Linked DNA regions of Homo sapiens: region 1 is linked to region 2. Evidence: promoter capture Hi-C in 16 types of primary human blood cells and fetal thymus (Javierre and others, 2016). All regions are on one chromosome and are shown on one strand. The core of a region is centred on a gene start or on the middle of the fragment in contact, and the rest is flanking DNA. Distances in the headings are between cores, read along the strand shown.

The links. The method cuts DNA at HindIII sites, captures the fragments that hold promoters and counts their contacts. A CHiCAGO score of 5 or more calls a contact.
Region 1: a contact is called between a fragment that was not itself captured here and the fragment with the promoter of CCER1 in region 2, in 1 of 17 cell types (M2 macrophages). The highest score is 5.6, in M2 macrophages.

What each region holds. Positions count from the first base shown.
Region 1 is chr12:88,161,455-88,167,079 of GRCh38, reverse strand. It overlaps TMTC3 (transmembrane O-mannosyltransferase targeting cadherins 3), which reads right to left. Exons shown (of 14, transcript NM_181783.4): 7 at 498-750. Among named protein-coding and RNA genes, the nearest start is that of TMTC3, 22 kb to the right of the region's middle. The HindIII fragment of the contact is 2,457 bases long and covers 1,394-3,850 here.
Region 2 is chr12:90,951,384-90,956,607 of GRCh38, reverse strand. CCER1 (coiled-coil glutamate rich protein 1) reads left to right here and starts at 1,432. Exons shown (of 1, transcript NM_152638.4): 1 at 1,432-4,393. The coding sequence starts at 1,866. The coding sequence ends at 3,086. RefSeq lists an enhancer at 2,424-2,523. The HindIII fragment of the contact is 2,103 bases long and covers 1,175-3,277 here.

The sequences.
Region 1 (5,625 bases), core at 1,373-3,872, 2.8 Mb after region 2:
ACTCTTATGAGTATGAAGTGACACAGGGTAAGAAAATAAGAAGAAAAACAGTACAGAAAAACCACCACCAAAAAAAAAAAAAAAAAACTGTTCAAATAATCAGAGTTCTCCGAACATAGTGAAAGCTATCTAAGGGAGTAATAAAAACCACCTTGCTCATGAGAACTGAAAAGCTCTATATTTCTAGTTGTATATCTTATATGATGTTCTTCTCTGTGCCAAGAAAACAAATAATATACAATATAATCAATTTCTTCAAAAAGTGTATAATCTAGTTGGATAAAGGTAACAAATATTTTATGTGCTGAACATATGTCAAATTATGCCTGCAAATTAACTGAGAATTTTGGGATAAACTCAAATACGTTTATAAATTGGGATGCCGTTGAACAAAGAAAGGAGTGCTTCTAAAAAGATGCTTTTGCTGAATTAAAGGTAGTTTCTTACTTATTCAACTGAATGTTAACATCATTTGGAAGTTAAGAAAAGTTTCTTACCATTAAAACAGTCTTGGAGGAATCACCAGAGTATCTGATACTGAATACTCCCAACATCCCCAGAAAACAAAAGAAAGTAAATGTGGCCAGATTTCGAATATCTAGTAATGACTCTATAAGTGGTATTGTTCCCATGGTCCAATCACAGCAGAGCTCTGAAGGATTTAATAACAACCAAGCATTCACAGGAAGGAGGTAGTTAAAAGTTAGTTGCCTTGTAGGAGTTGGGCTTACAGCAGCTGGGTTATCAAACCTGTATAAAGGATTAAAAAAAAGATTACAAATAAAACTTTTAAAGTACAGAATTATTTACATAAGTAAAACACTAAACAATAAACATTTTATATATCATCTTATTAAACAGAAGACACAGACAAATGTTATGTGTACCTCAGACTCTTGCTAGAGTTCAAACTATCAAAACTTTATGAAACATCTACTTCAGAGAAGTGATATTTATGAAGGACTGTTTGAAAGGCAAGCAGGTCATCCATTTCTGTTTATTATTAGAATAATTCAGACATGCATCCTATAATATTACAACACTGCAAAAGTGTTCCATTAAACCTTTTGATTAAAAGTAGTAACAAAAAGTTGTATAAGATTTATGGTTGTATGTGTTGTATGAATCACTTTTGAAAACACTCACCAATGCTTTCCTACATGAGACATTTCTTTTAGAGCTAAATGCTAATTAAAAATTATGCTTCCTGGAAAAAATTCGTATATTTTTCTTCTGTCATGGAGAGAGAAAACCATATCACCTAGCTTCCTTCCCTCTTTTCTTTGACTCCTAGGAAGCTAAAAACCAAATTTCTAGTACAAAGTAGTAACTGTGTAGGCCTGTGTAAGAATTTGTGTTCTACTTTCTCTCTTAGTAAATACTAATATAAGCTTATATCATAGTTTATCTTTTCCCAGGCCACAACATATATACATTTCATTAGTTTAGTCTGTGTTCTAAATTATATTGGTTATAATATATAGTACTTAAAAGACCCATTTTCTCATTTTAAGATGAGTAAGCCAAGGAAAATCAACTACTGCCACTTATTTGACTTGATTTTCTGAAAACATATCAAATATTTGATAAAAATAAATACTATTTGAACAAATAATATCATTTCAAAATTTTCATACGGAATCTCACAACTTACATATTATTTTTCAGATAAAATAATAAATCTTGAGTCTGAACTTGAATTCTCAAAATAACCAGCAGAACTGAATAAAAAGTTATCTTTTTGCCTATAATTCACTATTCGGAATTTAGTTTTAAAAATTACAGTTTATTTAGGATAGCTGATTTAAAGAAAGAGTTAATGTCAAAATAAATCAAATTATATTAAATCCAACTTCAGAGGGTAATAGAATTTATACACACATACACAAACATATATACACAATGTTGAAATGCTTTATTTGGAAAATATTTATATGCTATAAGCACCATATTCATACCTACTAACACATACATAAATTCACACCTATAAACTATATTTTTAGACTGTAGATAGGGAAATAGAAAATAGTTGATTCAAATTCTCTAAAAGGAATAACAGAAAACCAATGAAACTAAGAAGGAAATCCGAAGTCTTATATAAACAATTCAATCTTCTCTATTTCCAATACTGTAATATCTGCACAAGTTCATTTTAGCACGGCTAGACTCAGAGATAAAAATCCAGGATATTAACAAGTAATTATTCTTTAAAGAAAAAAAAATGCTAGGGAGGATAGTTATGTGAAAATATCACACAGTTTTGGGTTTAAAAATTATCTGAATAAAATTTATTCTACCCAGCGCCAGCAATGCACGATCATGTAACATAATGTGAATAACATGTTGGCCTTTTGTTAAAAATAAAAGTTCTTGCATGTAATGGCAATAACTTAAAATTGAACAGGGAAATAGTATAAATTTCATTTTAAATTTTAGCCAAGTCAGGTGAAATGAAAAAAGGCTAAATGTTAAAGTAGATAAATATGATATGCAGACTTAAAATTCACTATATCTTCTGCTTTCTAGCCTTAAACAACTAAAAAACTGTATAAGAGGTATAATTTTTTTTTAAACATACTGAGCATAAGGTGAAAAAGGACTGTAATACCTGAGAGAAGAAAAACAAATAAGGGGAGCTTTTTCTGGAAAGAGTTTAGTACCTGGATAGAGTTTTTAGTCAGTAAAACAGCAAGAGGGAACCCAGGCTGAGCCCAGTGGTATACTGAATTGAGAGTATGAAGTTGGGAGCCCTAGGAGTGCGGGGGCTAGAATTAGTGAGGAAGAATCCAGACAGAAGAAAGCTGCTGAGAAAGAGAACCTGAGACATCTGTAGAGGGTCTCTCTCCAGTTTTCAATATTGATGAGTTCTTTTTTTTTTTTTTTTTTTTTTGAGACAAAGTCTTGCTTTGTCACCCAGGCTGGAATGCCATGGCACAGTCTTGGCTCACTGCAACCTCTGCCTCCCAGGTTCAAACGATTCTTGTGCCTCAGCCTCCCGAGTAGGTGGGATCAGTCGTGCACCACCACGCTGGCTAATTTTTCTATTTTTAGTAGAGATGAGGTTTCCCCATGTTGGCCAGGCTGGTCTCAAACTCCTGACCTCAAGTGATCACCTCAGCCTCTCAAAGTGCTGGGATTACAGGCGTGAGCCACCACACCTGGCCTGATTTTGATGAGTTCAAATCAGCACATATATGTGAGGAAATACCCATGGTCGGTGTAGTGGGTTGAATCATATTTCTAAAAAATTCATGTCTACCCTAACTTCAGAATGTGGTGTTATTTGAAAATAGTTTCTGCCAATATTAGTTAAGATGAGGTCACACTGGGTTAGGGTGGGCCCTAAATCCAACGACTGGGGTCCTCATAAAAAGAGAAGAAAGAGATACACTGGAAAAGAAGGCAATGTGAAGACAAAGTAGATTGAAGTGATGGAGTTACAAGCCAAGGAATGCCAAAGACTGCTAGCAACCACCAGAAACCAGCAGACAGTTATGGAACAAATTCTTCCTTAGAGCCTCCAGAAGGAACCAATTGTGCTGACATACTGATTTGGTATTTCTGGCCTCTTGAACTGTGAGGGAACAAATTTCTGTTATTTTAAGCTATTCAGTTTGTAGTTATTTGTTACAGCAGCCTTCAGAAAACTAATACAATCAGGCAAAAACCTCCTGAATGCATTAGAGCTAAAAATTCCCAAATATACCGAGCCAGGAATAGTTCCTCGGCAGACAGTGTGGAAATCTTCGTAATTTACAGTTCACATCCAATAGTCAAAAAGATCTTGCATCAGTAGTGAAGTGAAATTAGTCTTATCCTAAATGCTATTGTGGTCCCACAAAACAAAGCTTAAAAGCAAGACTGGGCTGGGTGCAGTGGCTCATGCCTGTAATCTCAGCACTTTGGGAGGCTGAGGTGGGCGGATCACCTCAGGTCAGGAGTTCAAGATCAGCCTGACCAATATGGAGAAACCCTATCTCTACTAAAAATACAAAAATCAGCTGGGCGTGGTGGCGCATGCCTGTAGTCTCAGCTACTCAGTAGGCTGAGGCAGGAGAATCGTTTAAACCTGGGAGGTGGAGGTTGCGGTGAGCCGAGATTGCGCCATTGCACTCCAGCCCTGGGCAACAAAAGCGAAACTCTAATCTCAAAAAAAAAAAGAAGAAAGAAAAAAAGCAAGACTGAAAGATAAAACATTTTCCAAGTAACTTAAATGCATTCCAGAATAAAACTCAAAATTTATAGAATACATTAAGGTAAAATTCACAAATGGTATCTGTTCAACAATTTCCCGACATGCAAAGAAGCAGAGAAATACAACCTATAATGAAGAGAAAATTTATTCAATAAAAACTGACCAAGGAATGACACAGATGATAGAATTAGTAGGCAAGGACATTAAAGCAATAGAACATGTAGAGATATAGAAGATATAAAAGAATACTCAAATCAGACTTCCTTCTGAAGATGAAAACAGATTCAGAGGTAAGAAACAACTAGATGAAATTAAGAGTAGATTAGATATTGCAGAAAAAAGATTAGTGAACTTGATATAGCAAAAGAAACTATCCAAACTAAAAATGGTAAAAGATTGAGGGAAAAAAACAGAGCATCAGTGCAACAACTTCAAGAAACTTAAATATACTTAACTGACATACAAGAAAAATAGGAAAAAGAAAAGATGGCAAAAATATTTGAAGACTAGCTAAACATTTTCCAAAATTTTTACAAAATTAAAATCTACAGATTTCAAGAAGCTCAGTTTACCTAAGCACAAGAAACATAAATACATAAGAAACAATGGTAAACAGGAAATATTAAAAACAGGCATAGAAAAAATACACATAACATACATTAGCATAAAGAGATAAGGATGATAGAGGTTTTCCCACTGAAAACAATAAAAGCCGGAAGACAGTAGATTTACATTTTCAGAATACTGAATGAAAAAGCCAGTGTAGAATTCTCCACCCAGAGAAGGTATCTTTCAAAACCTGATATTTTTAATCAGAAGTGCTAAAGAAATTCCTTCAGGTAAAAGGAAAAATAGTACCAGATAAAAATCTTATCCAACAAAGGAATAAAGAACACTGGAAATGGTGACTCATGGTTAATGTAAAATACTTTTTTATTATTTAAATTCCTCCAAGACAATTGTTTAAAGCAATGTATGTTCAAGGAAAACATATGCAAACTGCACAAAAGTTAAGTTCTTACATATATAAAATGTATATTACATATATTTATACTATATATACACTGATATTTTTATTTTATATATATATTCGAAATTAGAATATTCCTTGAAGGTAAACTGTGATAAGCAGAGGATGTTCTAAAATCCCTAAAGCAACACTAAAACAACAAAGATTTATAGCTAATAAGCCAACAAGGAGATAAAATGAAATATTAAAAAAAGAATCCAAAGGAAGGTGGAAAGAGAGAAAAAAGGAACAAAGATTAGATGAGACAAAGAGAAAACAATTTTATCAAGATGAAAGATTTCCATCAAACTATATCAATTATCAAATTAAATATAAATCAATGATATATCCCATCTAAAAGTCAGATTATCTGACCAAACAACAAAAGAAGACCAAATTGTATGGATGCTACAAGAAATCC
Region 2 (5,224 bases), core at 183-2,682:
ATGGTAGCACTTTCCTTGACGTTTTACAAAGAAGGACAAGAAAAGGACACAAGCCAGGGTGGGGATGCCTATTTTTGCATCAAGAACAAGTGCCTTTACATATACTATATCATCTCTTTTAGAAGTCATGAAGTATTTACAAATAAGGATGATAGTTAACAGTTACTGAGTACTTACAGGGTACCTGCACTAAGTACTTGAAGGAATTACAGTAAGTCCTCACTTAGCATCATAGGTTCTTGGAAACTGCTACTTTTAAATGAGAAGACATATAATGAAACGTGGTTTTGTTATTGTTGTTGTTTTGCCTCAGCAACGTTATAAGGAAATGACATTGAGCAAAACATTAATATTAGAGGACCTGTTATATGCATTTAATTCTTTACACAACCGTATGGAAAAGGTAGTATAATCATGGTATGGGTAAGGAAACTGAGGCTTACAGAGATTAATAATTGGTGAGTTGAAGTTGAATCCCATTTATTTAAATTAAAACCCATATGCTTAACCACAATGCTTTAAAGGCTTCCCGTGTATATGCTGTATGGTCAGTGAAGGGACAAAAGGAAAGACAATCAGAATATTCCTCTTCCCAAGGACAAACCTGTGGTATTCATTATGGTAATAATAATATTTGTTTAATTGAGGTACACATGTACGGTATATTACCAATAGCAAAGTACCTTCCCAAATGTTATGTCATTTAGTTATCACAAGGGTCCTACTGGGGGTTTGGTAGAACACATAGCAATGTCATTAGGAACCTAACTTTTGGGTCAAACAGGTTTAGGCTTAAATCGTAGCCTGGAAATTTATTAGCCCCACAACCATGGGGAAATTAAGCTCTCAGTTCCCTCATCTGTGACAGGTGATAAGATACGCCTACCTCTCAGGGTAGATGACAGGATTATTTGTCAGTGAGCACATGCAATAATAAATGTTCGTGGTCTTGTTTTATGTATTATGAATCCCAATTCTCAGGAGTAAGAAGAGTTGGCACCGGCCAGAAGGTAAGAGGTTGGGCAAAGTTTCCTTTCTCCAGTAATTTTCCATGATCCCTTAGGCCCTCCAAAGGTGTAGAATGTGGGGTTTTCAAAACTCAAGTTCTCCCGCCCCCACCGGGTTCAGATGAAGGCCCATCTTCTAAACCCCCGCCTCAAGGTGATACAAAGCTTTCGGATAAACTGCCTCCAGACTTGCTTGAATTGAGCAGCAGAAACCCAGCCTGGACCCCTCTTCACCTCCCCCAAACGCTGCGTCACAAGCCCCCTGCGAATGTTCACCTGGAGCCTGGTTCCGGACAGAACCCGGCCTTGCACACAGGGAGGACGATTTCGACCCCAATTGGCTGTTGCCCTGGGTGACCAAGAACGCAGTGGGCACGCGGGAGACCACAGCCAGTATTTAAAGGCTGCCGCTGCCCTCGCCACCACAGTCCTGCCAGGACGGCGACAGTGAAGCACCTGGGTTGAGAGGGAGCAGCAGGTAACTGCGCAACCCCTGCCTCCCCCGGCCCCAGCCCGTGCCTCAGCAGAGCCGGGTGTGGTGGGGACCCGGGAGTGGGTCTCACTGCGTGTCGCCTGCCAACACCTTCCTCCCCCACCATCCTTACCCAGCCCCAGTCCCACCCAGCACACCTGGGCGAGACAACCCAGGTGCGAAGGACAAGCGATTACTACCGAAGAGCGTGCAAACCAGGAAGAGAGCAGCCTCCTGGAGAGGAAAACGTGATCCCAGGGGTAGACACGTGGCGCTGCGTGGAGAGACAGGTTGACGAGACGAGGCTCTTCTGACCGTCCTACCTGGCAAAACTTGACGACAGCTTCAGGTCGCTACCATCTGGACCTCTCGGAGCTCCCTGAACCATGACTCAGACCCTCGACACAAGGGAAGACCCTCTGAACCTGGGCGGCGGTGGCGGCGGCGGCTGTGGCTGTGGCTGGGCACACTCGGCCTCCTTGAGCTCCTGGTCGTCCTGCCATCGAAGGCGCCCGGGTGCTCCAGCGTACAATAGACCGCACCGATATAGCCCCAAGACCGAGTATGGGCCCCCAAGGAAGCAGCCGAAGCAACAGCACGGCCCGGGCTTTTGGTTCCAACCACCCGTGTGCTCTAACTGGGGGTGCTGGGGAGGGCCCTGGCGCCCACCCCCTCCAGGATTCTGGAAATTCCCCTGCCCGGTGCAAGTGTTTCGGGTGTATGGCCTGCACCCTCTCTGCTTTTGCTGCTGCTCCTGCTGGAGCGGGTCCTGGAACCCTGGCTGGGTGAAGCCCCCAGGCAGGAAGAAGCGCTGGGGCCGCAGAGGCCGCGGCCTGCGCCACCACCCTCGCCACTCCTACCCGCGGAGCCCGCCAGCGGATGTGAGCACGCTGCCGCGGCCGGTCAAGCTGTATGAGTGGAGAGAGCCTGGCATGCGAGCGCCGCCCAACACCACCCAATTCATCATGAACCAGATCTACGAGGACATGAGGCAGCAGGAGAAGGTGGAGCGTCAGCAGGAGGCGCTGCGGGCGCAGAAGGCCACGGTGAGCGGCGAGGCCTCCCCAGCCAGATCCTCCGGAAACGACGCGCCCCCTGGCGGCAGCAAGGAAACCTGGGGACTGCAGGAAACTCTGTATGGCTTTGTGCAGAATCCCTCTCTAGCATTCAGTCCCAACCCAGAGGAAAACCAGTCTCTTGCCCCGCTGCTGGTGGAAGAAGAGGAGGAGAAGAAAAATGATGATGAGGAGGAGTATGACCAGGAGGTGTGTGATGCAAAGGAGGCGAGCGAGGAGGAAGAAGAGGTCGAAGATGAGGAGGAAGAGGTCGAAGATGAGGAGGAAGAAGAGGTCGAAGAGGCTGAATATGTGGAGGAGGGAGAGGAGGAGCTGGAAGAGGAGGAGCTGGAAGAGGAAGAGGAGGTCCTGGAGGAGAACGAGCAGAGAGGGGAAGAATTTCACTTGCCTCTGGAAATGCCTTTATCAATCTTCGTAGAGGCTGAAGAAAAGAGAGAGAACTTTATAAGCTGCACTTTTTTAAACCCAGAGCAGATAATTCCCAAAGTGCCACAGGAATCCCTGTTCATGGCACAGGACTTTAACTGTTAGACATCAGAAAAGGGATTGAGAAAAGGGATGGAACTGATTTGAGGCTAAACTGGATTAGCAATTTATTAAAAACTGATTAAAAAGTGAGTTCCATTAATAAACAGATCTATGTAAACACCTTCTTTGGCCATTATAAAATGTTTAAAATTTGATGCGTATGTGTATGACTATGGGTGGGTGGTGGGGAAGCTTTCAAATATAATTTTACTGGAACTGATTAAAGGCCAAGTATTTTATTACTACCATTTGAATATTTTCATTTGGTGTTTTCCCCTCTAGAAAACAGAGTTGCTGTTGTTTTTTTAAATCTGGCAATGCTGAAAAAGCGTTTGTTTTTGAAACAAATTTATACAACTTGGCCACTTAATGAGCTTGGAATCAAGAGATAGTTTATTACATGCGTAAGAAGCACATTCTAACGCTACTAAATGTTCACCAGTGCTCTTAACATAACTGAAGCCATTTTCAATCCCTGTATTTTTTCAACAATATTTTTCCTCATAGATTTTTCCACCATCAGAGTTCATTTTTGAGGGTTATATTTTGTTAACCTCATTTGCAGGCTCTTGTGTCATCGCTTATTGATATTCCTTGTTCCACAGTGCTATGGATCTTCCTCAGAAGAACATGAAGTTGCTTCTGTGGAACTGGTTATCTGCCATGGCCTCAACAATCCATAATCCAGTCATGGAGAGGATTCCCCATGGTCAGAAGTCAACTTGCACATCTAGTTAAAGTCCAAGGTAACTGCAAACAGTGGAACATGGCTTAGGTTTTGAAGCCTCGTTATTGGATATAGTCTTTATCCTAAGTTCTGAGGAGCCATAAAAATAGTTTTCCAGAATGGATTTTTTTTTTTAGATAAAAAGATTATCTACCTTTTGGGGGTGGAATATCTTATTTTGTTTTTGAATTTGTCTTTGTTATAAAGAAGAGTAAAACAAAGATGTGTAAGTGTGAGTCTGTGTGAGCTAGTTTCTGATGTCTAAACAGCAATTACCTATGGAGAATACATCATTCAAAGTAATAGCTTTTGTTCAAACATTTTTAGGAAGTAATAATACATTTCTTCCTGGACAGTTGATAAAAGTTCCATCCATAGCATATTTCCAGAATATCCCTAGATGATGAATTTAAACATGCCTTCTCAGAAATTAAATCTTTTGACTTTGAACCACAAGTTAGCATTTATTTGTTGAAGAGAAGAATGTGTGGTGATGTCTTACCTGAATGTTGGTTGTTACTGATATATTACAATTTTCAAGGTGATAAGCTTGAGCTATTAAATAATAAAAAGTATTAAAGTACCTTGCCTCTCATTTCTCATTATTGAAATATCACAAATCCATGCAGCAATGCTTCAGTGGCCAAAAGGATGAATAGAAGAAAGGGGGAAAAAACTTAGGAATTTTAAAATTACACCAAACATTCCAAATTGCAGTGGTGAATAACCAAAACTCTAAGATATCATTACTTTCTACAAGATGCAATTTCTGAATGACCTATAAAATTAAAAGTAGCCATCCCTATGTGTTTTACTGTTCTAATATATATAAGTAGAGGGAAATCAAGAATCCAGCTCCTGAAGCTAGGTAATAAATCCATGCAAGTCATAGCCCATAAATACTTTACTGATGACACTTAATCAAAAGGTCAAAGTTAAGTATGTTCTCACTGGAGAAGCCTTTTTTCATTTAGGATTGAATTTATTTACAATCCCATCTGGACATTTCTCTATTTCTTCCTGCAAAATATTTTAAATTTAAGAATTCACCACATATTAATTGCCTTCATATGCAAAGATGTTATTCACTAGTTATTTTAAGGGATGTAAACATGTGCAATGCCTCAGGAGTCTACATTCTTGTGCATGAACCATTATTCAGCAAATATTGAACTACTGGGGGCCAAGCACTGTGAACAGTGATAAGAATACAATGGTGAATAAGCAAAACCCCATTCTGACATTGTTATTGTTTAGTAGAAAAGTCAGACATTAAATGAGTTAGATGGATTGCTCATTGCAAGTGGTCTGAAGGAAATGTACCACTATAAAAACATAGATCACTAGAGAACCCAGGAGTAAGGCTGAGGATGTTTATCGTGGGCAGAGGGACCCCTAAGTCTAAAGGCCAAGA